Linked DNA regions of Homo sapiens: region 1 is linked to region 2. Evidence: promoter capture Hi-C in human tissues and cell types (Jung and others, 2019). All regions are on one chromosome and are shown on one strand. Each heading gives the region's core, a stretch centred on a gene start or on the middle of the fragment in contact. The rest is flanking DNA. Distances are from core to core; before and after follow the strand shown.

Region 1 (5,060 bases), core at 635-3,134, 530 kb before region 2:
AAAAATATTAATTAGAAGGCAAATAGTAAAATCCATGTGAAATAGGTAACATTATCCGGAATTGGACCCACTGGAATCATTGCACATCTAGAAATCCAGAATAGACTCAACTATTTCATCTCATAGTTTTTAAAAAGTTTTTTTTGTTTGGTTTTTGTTTTTGTTTTGGGACAGGGGTGTCGCTCTGTGACCCAGGCTGGAGTGTAGTGGTGCAGTCATGGCTCATTTCAGCCTAGACCTACTGGGCTCAAAGGATCCTCCTGCCTCAGCCTCTTGAGTAGCTGGGACTACAGGTGCAAGCAACCATACCCAGCTAATTTTTTATTTTTTGTAAAGATAAGGTCTCACTCTGTAGCCCAGGCTGGCCTTAAGCTCCTGGGCTCAAGCGATCCTCCTGCCTCGGCCTCCCAAAGTGCCTGGATTACAGGTGTGAGCCACTGCCCCGACCGGTTCTGAAAAGTTTAAGCAGATTTTCCATCATAATATCTAAACAATCTTTCAGGAATGTTTCTGTGCAAATTGGTGGCATTCCACAGCTGGAACACTGTACACAGAGAACTCACAACGGTATGAGGCCATCCATTCATTCAACAAACATTTACTGGGCACCCAGAGGGCTGTCCTAGGCCTAGAGTGATAGAGCAGTGAATGGAACAGAGTCAACATCTAGGCTCTGGACTGGTAGGTTCTTCTGGAGTTTTTCGGTAACTTCTCATAACAGCAGTTGTCTTGCTTTGCAGAATGAATATAGGGATGGATACTGATATTACACAATTACAAAGCCCAAAATTCTTAATACTTAAGCAGAATCTGTTGACCCCTGACGCCGCTCTCTGCCCCCACTCTGATCTGTCCATCCTTTTCTTCTGATTCACGGCAGCAGCCAGTCCTTGGTTTTCCTGCTTTCACCCTCACTCCTGCAGTCTGCTTCCCACATGCAGCCAGAGGGACCTGTGTCAGATCACATTCCTTCTCTGCTTGGAACCCTTCCATGGTTCCATCTTACTGCCTAAGTCCTCACTATGTCCCACAAAGCTCCGCACAATCTGCCCTTGTTAGCTACCCGCCCTTATCTCCTCTTACTCTCCACCTTGCTCACTTTGCCCCACCCACCCTCCTCATTGTCTCTCCAACTTCCCATATCTTTCCTTCCTCAGGGCCTCTGCATCTGCAGATCTTTTCCCTGCCTGGAACTCTCTTCCCCTAGATAGGTGCATGCCTCACTCCTCACTTCCTTCAGCCCTTTAGCTCAAAAGTCTCCTGATGCATTCCTTGACCACCGTGCCAAAAAAACAAAAATCATTTGCCCTCCAAAATCTCTATCCCCTTTCCCTGCTGTTATTTTCTCCAAAGCACTTATCGCTTTCAAACATTCAACATGTTTGGTGTCTATTTCCTCCATTAAAAAGATGAACTCCAGGAGAGTGGAGATTTTTATGTCTCGTACACCGCTGTATTCCCAGCTCCTAGAACAGCACCTGGTACACACGAGGTGCACTGTAAATGTTTTTCGGATGTTTGAATGGAAGCCCAGAGTCGGTCACTGTTCTTGGGGCTGGAAATGTATTGGGGAAGCCTTTTTGGGTGTACAGGGGCCAGAGGGATTTAGCTAGGAATACAAAAGAGGGCACAGCCCGTGCGAAGGCTATGAGCCCTGATTATTGGGGTGCTCGCATTGGGGAAGAGGAAACCGGAAGCGAGTTTAGGGCGACCGCTGCACAGGCAAAGGCTGGGAAGGCAGAGAGCGAGGGCAGCGGGTTGCGTGTCGACAGGCTCGAGAATCCAGGCTCACTGCGCGTGCGCCGAGCTCCGGGCGGGGAAGGGGCCCGGGGGCGGGACTACGGGGTGGCGTCACGCAGCGCACGTCGCCGCGCGCCTGCGCTCTTTTCCACGTGCGAAAGCCCCGGACTCGTGGAGTTGTGAACGCCGCGGACTCCGGAGCCGCACAAACCAGGGCTCGCCATGAAGCCAGGTCAGGCTGGGGTGAGGGTCCGGGGTCAGGGACGGAGGCCGGGCGGGAATCCGGGTGCCAGGCCAGAATCGGAGGGGTGGGGCCTTGGCCTGGGGGCAGGGGTTCTGAGCACGGGTTCCAGTCTCCTGTGGGAAGGGGGATTCTGATTCCAGCAGGTCTAGGGGTTTGTGACTGGCTTCAGAGGTCACGGTCGTGAGTCGAAGAAGGCCGTGGGCCTGGCATTGGGGGTGTTGACGTGGGGTTCGTCTCATTGAGGCCGTCTAATAGGGATTTTGGATATTGGGCAGGAGGCGGCACTCAAGGGTCTTGGGCTAGAGTTTGGATTCAGGCATCTGGAGTCTTGGATCGCTGGGCGTGTTTTGGGAATCAGGCTTGGGTCGGAGATGGAGAGTTCCTGACCTTGGGTCCTGGAGCTGTGTGTGGGAAGCCCCCATTTGCCTTCCCTGTCGCTGCCACCACCACCATCCCCTTATCCCGCATCCCAGCTTTTCCGAGTGGGCCGGAGTGGATGAGGACTCCCCGGTTGGCCGTGTGCGGCGCTCTTCGGCTCACTTTCCCGCCTTCTGCACTTACAGTGGGGCGGATCCCCGGGGATGGAGTGGAGATTTGGGGATTAAGATTTCCACCTCCGGGACGAGACTTAACAAGCTCGGCATTAGTCTGGGGTGGTGGGGCGGGTGGTTGTCACAGGAGGTAAGTAGTTTTATTCTTAAGATTTTCCACTAGATTCTGCTGAAACCACTCCCTTCATGGTGGAATGATGAGGGGGTCCTGGCTTTGACAGCAGAAGGGCCTCAGTTCAGTGTGTCAGCTCTTGCTCAGCTTCTTAGCCTGCTGTGTGAACTTGGGCAAGTGGCTTTACCTCTCTGAGCCTCTGTTTTCTCATCAATAAAATGGCGCCAGTTAGGATTAAGCGACGTTAAAAAAAATAGCACAGTGCTTGACATATAATAGTATTAGCTCTAATTGTTACCTTTATCTTTCTCAAAGAGAACAACATTAGAATCCTTCTCGGTGGTGCCTGAGCACTTCCTCCATCTGGCCTGCCCAACCCGCACTCATCTGTGTGAGAACTTGCTTCATTGAGTTTGGAGAATTTCCACCATGGCCCAAAGGGTCTGTTTTCCTAGTACAGGCTTTCTTTTTCTTTTGTGTGTGTGTTTGTGTGGAGAGATGGGGGTCACCTGGCAGGAGATTTGTGGATCTGTGCCCTTCTCCCAAGTTCCCTTTCTCTTCCGTGTTTGGGGATCTCTTGATGAAGTGGGGTGGGGGATTGTAGGCCAGGTATGCTGAGATCCTGGCTTGCCTGCAGGCATTCTGGTCTGTGATTCCCTCATAAATGGAGGATACCCGTTCTTCCAACCTTCCTCCATGTGTGGTAGAATGTGAAGTTGTAAAAGTTGTCAGGTGTTAGCTCTTTAGTAAGGATTTTAGCCTGAGTGAGAAAAGAACCCTTTGGGAGATTTTTGAGCAGGGGCGTGGTGCAGTCTGACATTTTTAAAAGGGATTCTTTTTGCTTCGATGTGTGAAAGACCTCAGGGTGGCAAAAGTGGAAGCAGGCACATTGGTGGGAAGCTTGTTGCTGTAATCTAGGAGATGGTGTGGTGGACCAGGATGGGAGCAGTGGACATGCTGACAGTTTTACATGCTTTTGAAGACAGAACCAACAGATTGTATGTGGGTGTGTGATCGGAGTCAAGGATAACCAAGGGTTTGGGGGTGTGTAACTGGAAGGATGGAATTGCCATTTTTGAGATGGAGAAGGCTGTGGAAGGAGAGCAGATTTTAAATCAGGGGGTTTATGGACCCCCCTCCCCCCAAAAAAAGAACTTACTGGAAAAGTTTGTGTGAACATGTGTTTTTTCTGAGGACTGGGTACTTTTGGTACATTTTCCCCCAAAAGCTCCAGGACCTGAAACGGATTGAGATGTTTTGAGTATCTGGGATTGAAAGTTTACACTCATGCCCACTCCGCCCCAAGCACATGCCAGTACTTCCTTTCTGTTAGGCCTGGGTTGAGACTTTCATAAGCCTAGCTGTGGCATCTCCCCTAAATGAAGGTCTTGGCTTTGGAAAACTGTTGGAGGGCTTGGGCAAGAAAATTGAGATCTGAGTTGCTGTTTCAAAAACAGCACTTATTAGTTGCTGTGTGGAAAGTGGACTGTAGGGGGAGTAGAACATTAAAAAGTGAACAACTCTTAGTTATGTTCTAGAGTTTTGAAAAGGAAACTTCATTTTAAAAGATCAAATTAGGAGTAGCTATTAAAAGTTACATTTTCATCTTTAATAGAAAGATGAAAAAAGAACTAACTGGAAAAGTTTGTGTGAACATGTGTTTTTTCTGAGGAATGGGTACTTTTGGTACATGAGGAGGGAAGAGGAGACGCGTACCCCTGAGTTTGAATGATGATGTTCAAAGTAGGTGCCAGATAGTATATATGTGATGTGCTCTGTGGGTACAAGTCATTTAATCTTTACAACCCTATAGGATGAGCACTGCATTTTTTTTATTTTTATTTTTTTGATACAGAATCTCTCTCTGTCACCCAGGCTGGAGTGCAGTGGCACCATCTCAGCTCACTGCAACCTCCGCCTGTGTTCAATTGATGCTTGTGCCTCAGCCTTTTGAGTAGCTGGGATTACAGGCATGCGCCACCACGCCCAGCTAATTTTTTGTATTTTTAGTAGAGACAGGGTTTCACTATGTTGGCCAGGCTGGTCTTGAACTCCTGGCCTCAAACTGTCCGCCTGCCTGGGTCTCCCAAAGTGCTGGGATTACAGGCATGAGCTATGGCGCGTGGCCTGGCACTGTATTGTCTCCATGTCTTACAGATGAAGTTTTCAAGACCCCTATGAACCTTCCTTACTAGGGTCGAGAGTGGCAGCAACATTGCCTATCTCTCCATATGCGATACTTGAGGGGAGTGACCGGCACTTCCCTGGTCACCATCTGATGGATTGTGTGCTTTCTGAACAAATAGAGGGTGCTTTCTCCTTGAGGCAGGGCCCAGGGTTTAAGAGTCATCAGCTCAGTGCTCATTTAACATTTATTGAGCCCATACTTTGTGCCAGATGTTGTGCAGGGTTT
Region 2 (4,753 bases), core at 2,200-4,699:
GGGATGGTGTGTGTAAATTGGGGATGGAAAAGGAAGGTCTCTTTGAAGAGATTACATTTAAGACCATCATGAAAAGAAAGAACCAGCAGCCATGGAAAGGGGAGAAGAGTGCATATGCTCAGGGGCTGCTGCTGTGGGCTGGTGTGTTGGAGGAATAGGAAAGTCATCGTAGAAGCTGAACAAGGGGTCGGATGCGGTGGCTCACACCTGTAATCCCAGCACTTTGGGAGACTGAGGTGGGCGGATCACTTGAGGTCAGGAGTTCGAGACCAGCTTGACCAACATGGCAAAACCCTGTCTCTACTAAAAATACAAAAATTAGCCGGGTGTGGTGGTGGGCGCCTGTGGTCCCAGCTACTCAGGCTGAGGTAGGAGAATCGCTTGAGCCTGGGAGGCAGAGGTTGCAGTAAGCCGAGATCATGCCACTGCACTCCAGCCTGGGTGACAGAGTGAGGCCCTGTCTCAAAAAAGAAAAGAAAAGTCATTGTTAAAACTGAAAGAGGGGCCAGGAGTGGTGGTGCACGCCTGTAAACCCAGCACTTTGGGAGGCTGAGGCGGGAGGATCACTTGATCCCAGGAGTTCCAGACCAGCCTGGGCAACATAGTGAGACCCCCATTTCTAAAAAAAAAAAGAAAAAAAAAAAAAAGAAGAAGAAGAAGCTGGAACAGAAGAGGAGAGTCGTTGGAAATAGGGTCAGCTGGGACCAGAGCTCACAGGGCCAGATTGGCTCTATGAATAAGGCATATCTCCCTCGGTTTCAGCTTCTTTCTTCTTCCATCTGTCTCTCTTATTATTATCTTTTTTTCTCTCCCTCTCTTTTCTACTCCTGTCCAGCCCAGGCCTACCCTCACCCTCTTTCCCCATCACCCCTACCCTGTTCTGCCACATACTATCTGTGTGACCTTGGGCAAGTGACCAAACCTCTCTGTGCCTCTATTTCCCTTATCCATAAAATGGGGATGGTAATAGGACCTCTTCATTTGGCTGTTGTGTAGATTGAATGAAGTGATAGATGTGAAACCCTTAGAATCATTTCTGGCACATAAATAGTGCTGTATATGTGTTCACTTGTGTTGTTGTTGTTATTCCTACCCCCAAGCTCCAGCAGGGAGCACTAGCAACCACGGTGGGAGGTGGGGATGCTGCCTGGGTGGTGGCGATGAAGGGTGGAGTCTGGAGAATAGGGGGATTGTGAGTGTCCCCAGGGACATCTCAGAGTTGCGCTTGGGGTTAAGGTTCACCAGAAGGAGTTATCTGCAGAGCTGAGCTTGATCTGGGGGATAGGGCGGGCTTCATGTAAATAATTTAGGCCAGGCACAGTAGCTCATGACCACCGTGGTCAGGAGTTCAAGACCAGCCTGGGCAACATAGTGAGACTCCATTTATAAAAAAACTAAAACAAAACCAAAAACAAAACAGCTACTGAGGAGGCTGAGATGGGAGGAACACTTGAGCCCAGGAGGTCCAGGCTGCAGTGAGCTGTGATCACACCAGTGCACTCCTGCCTGGGTGATGGAGTGAGACTCTGACTCAAAAACAAACAAATAAAAAAAAAGAAAGAAAGAAAAATTAGACTGGGTGCGGTGGCTCATGCCTGTAATCCCAGCACTTTGGGAGGCTGAGGCGGGCGGATCACTTGAGGCCAAGAGTTCGAGACCAGCCTGGCCAACATGACAAAACCCTGTCTCCACTAAAAATACAAAAAGTAGCCAGGCATGGTGGGACATGCCTGTAGTCCCAGCTACTCGGAAGGCTGAGGCAGGAGAATTGCTTGAACCCGGGAAGCAGAGGTTGCGGTGAGCGGAGACCATGCCAGTGCACTCCAGCCTGGGCAACAGAGCAAGACTCTGTCTCAAAAAAAAAAAAAAAAAGAAAAGAAAAAAGAAAAAGAAAAGAAAAATTAGCCGGGCGTGGTGGCGCACACCTGTAATCCCAGCTACTAGGGAGGCTGAGGCAGGAGAATTGCTTGAACCTGGGAGGTGGAGGTTGCAGTGAGCCGAGATCGTGCCACTCTACTCCAGCCTGGGTGACAGAGTGAGACTTTGTCTAAAAAAAAAAAAAAATTAGGAAAGGGGTTTAGAGGAGGACCTCTGTACAGTGGGATCCAAAACGAGAAGGGTTTGAGACCCCAGGAATCTGGGGCACTGCATGAAACAACACAGATTTTTAGGGGAGAAGTTGCTGGGTTTAGGGACCCTGTGAATATCTCAGAAAGAGAAGGAGAGTGGCCTGAGATACTCAGTGGGGTTTGAGGGAAGGGGTGGGGTTCAGCTATGGGACAGGGGATGGGCAAAGGGGTCTGAACTAGGAAGGAGCAAGGCATTCTGGGCTCTATGGAAGTCACAGGGAGGGGGGACTTTCAGGGTCCAAGAGAAAGAACTGGAGCAAGAAGGAGGCAGGGTCCTCAAGGGGGCAGGACTAGTAGGGGGTGGGAAAAAATTGGGGCTAATTGGGGAGTTTTGGAAACCAAAGGATGTCTTGGAGGAGAAGGAGAGAGAAAGGTGTAAGGTCAAAGGGGTGGAAGATGGTTTGGGGTCTAATGGGGTTCATGGGGAAAGTTTAAGGGTCTTCCATAGGGATAAGAGACATTTTAGGGCCCCCTAGAAGTTAGGCATGGTTTGGAGTTCATACTGGGGGTAAGGGAATGGGTTAGGGTCCTTGAGGGTAGAAGGACATGGCTGGGGGTCCCCAAGAAGGAGTGGAATATGATTTGTGGTTCTGGTGGCTGTAGAATGTGGTTTGGGTCCCCAAAGGGAGTCAGGCACCATCTGGGATTTGGCTGACATATGGTCTGAAGTCTCCCCCGATGTTAGGGTATGATTTGGGGTCCGTGAGGGAAGGGGTGTGGTCTGGGGGTCTATCTGAATGTTGGGATATGATTTAGGGTTGCTGGTGGGGTGGTCTGGATCCCCTTGGATGCTGGGATATGATCTGGGATTCTTCTGGGTTTGGGGGCATGGTCTGGGGTTCCTGACAGTGTGTGGGTCATAGTCTGAGGTCAAGCAGGAGAGCAGGGCATGATTTGTGGTCCTGGGTGGCCCTAGAACATCGCCTGGGTTCTCAAAAGAGGTGAGGCCTGATCCGAGGTCCCCCTGGGTATTAGGACGTGATGGGAGGTCTCTGTAGGGAGATCCGGGGTCCCTAGGCCAGTTGGGGCGTGGTCTGGGGGGGTCTCCGGGGAGGCCGGCGGGGCTGGGGGTGGGGCTGGGGAAGGGTCGGGGGCGGGCCCGCGGCGGCTCGGCAGTGGAGAGGGGTCTGCGGCGGGTTCGGGGCGGGGATCCCGGGTGTGCGACCGCCCCGCCCGGCCGCCCCCACCAGTCGGCGCCCCCTCCCCCCTTGCGGCGGCGGTGGCGGCGGGCGGCGCGGAGGGCGGAGCTCGGCTGCGGCTCGGGAGGGAGGGCGGGAGGCGGGAGGGAGGCGGCCCCGCGGCACCGCGCCCCCTCCCCCGGCCCTCCCCCCACCATGGCGCGGAGCGAGGCAGCGGCGGCGGGGCCGGGCCCGGGGCCCCCCCGGGCTGGGTGAGCGCGGCCTGCAGCGGCCCGGGAGCGGCGGGCGGGGGCGCGGGTGTGTGCGCGGGTGTGAGCGTGCGAGCGTGCGAGTGTGTGTCCGTGGCGCTGCGGCGGGCCCGGCGTGCGCCCGCGCGGCCCTATGTGTGCCCGGTGCCGGCGTGTGCGGCGCCCTGCCCGTGTGGCCATCGGGTGTGCGCGGGGTGTCGAGCCCGGCCGGCGTGTCCGGCTGTGCACGCGTGTCCCCCCGAGCGGCCGCCCCTCCGGCTGTGTGTCTGGGCGCTGTCGCGCGCCCATCGGAGGGGCTGTGTGCAGGTGTGTGTGTGCGTGGGTTGTGTGCCCAGGTGTGGGTCCCCCCCAAGCCCATGTGCGTGCGCGACTAGCTGCTCTGGGTGTTTGTGTCCGGGTTGGATGTCCATCCCCGGGTCTGTGGAGCCGGGTGTGCCCGCTCGGGTGTCCATTTGTGTGTGTGTGTGTGTGTGTGTGTGTGTGTGTGTGTCTGCGGGTTGTATGTCTCCGAGGGTGTGTATCTGTGAGTCCACGGCAGGTTGCTGGCTTGGGGGCTGAGGCTCGGCGCCCAGGCCTCGGTGTGGATTTGGGGGAGGGGAGTTCGCCGCTCCCTCGGTCCATGTCAACTGGGGGGTCCTTAGCGGTCCTGGGGGAAGCGGCCATGTCTTCCCCTTCCCGGTGGTTGCGGGGGGGGGATGGGCGGCCAGGAGGTGGACAGATGGAGGGGGGATGAGAGGCCGAGAAATGGACAGATGGGCCCTGAGGTGGGGGTTGGGGGGCGAAGACCCGGCCCTTCCCCACCCACTCCACCCTAATTCCCCCACCGGCCAGACATCTGCAGACGGAGCCAGAGTTACCTCCATCCTGATGGCCAGGCTGGGGAACCTTTGGGGCTGCTGGTGGGAGGATCTCCTTGAAACGGTGATCTAGGACTCAAACCCCCAAATCCTCTTGAGTTTCCACCTGCTGAACTCTGACCTCTGGCCTGGCTTTTGCCCTGGTTTTTTGGGGGTGTGGAGGGCAGGATGCTGAATGTGCTGCAGGGATGTTAGGATTTCTTGGGCCTGGGAAGTAAGTAGGTGGGGTGGTGGGGGGGTGCCTCAGGGCTGGGAGGAATGTGTGTCCAAGACTGTGTGAGTGTGAATCTGGGCCTGTCTACTGACTGTGCTACTGTGGTTCAGTATTTTCTATGCATTTGGAAGTGTGTAAATCACAGGACTGTTGTGTGAGCATGTGT

Evidence for each region. The method cuts DNA at HindIII sites, captures the fragments that hold promoters and counts their contacts. A contact is called where the count stands out against the background at its distance.
Region 1: the fragment with the promoter of FBL here is called in contact with the fragment with the promoter of LRFN1 in region 2 in 1 of the 25 tissues and cell types used here (stomach).

What each region holds. Positions count from the first base shown.
Region 1 is chr19:39,843,203-39,848,262 of GRCh38, reverse strand. FBL (fibrillarin) reads left to right here and starts at 1,884. Exons shown (of 9, transcript NM_001436.4): 1 at 1,884-1,972. The coding sequence starts at 1,963. RefSeq lists an enhancer at 2,339-3,079. The HindIII fragment of the contact is 10,030 bases long and covers 1-4,863 here.
Region 2 is chr19:39,319,559-39,324,311 of GRCh38, reverse strand. It overlaps LRFN1 (leucine rich repeat and fibronectin type III domain containing 1), which reads left to right and starts at 3,449. Exons shown (of 5, transcript NM_020862.2): 1 at 3,449-3,519. RefSeq lists a silencer at 3,601-3,860. The HindIII fragment of the contact is 12,533 bases long and covers 374-4,753 here.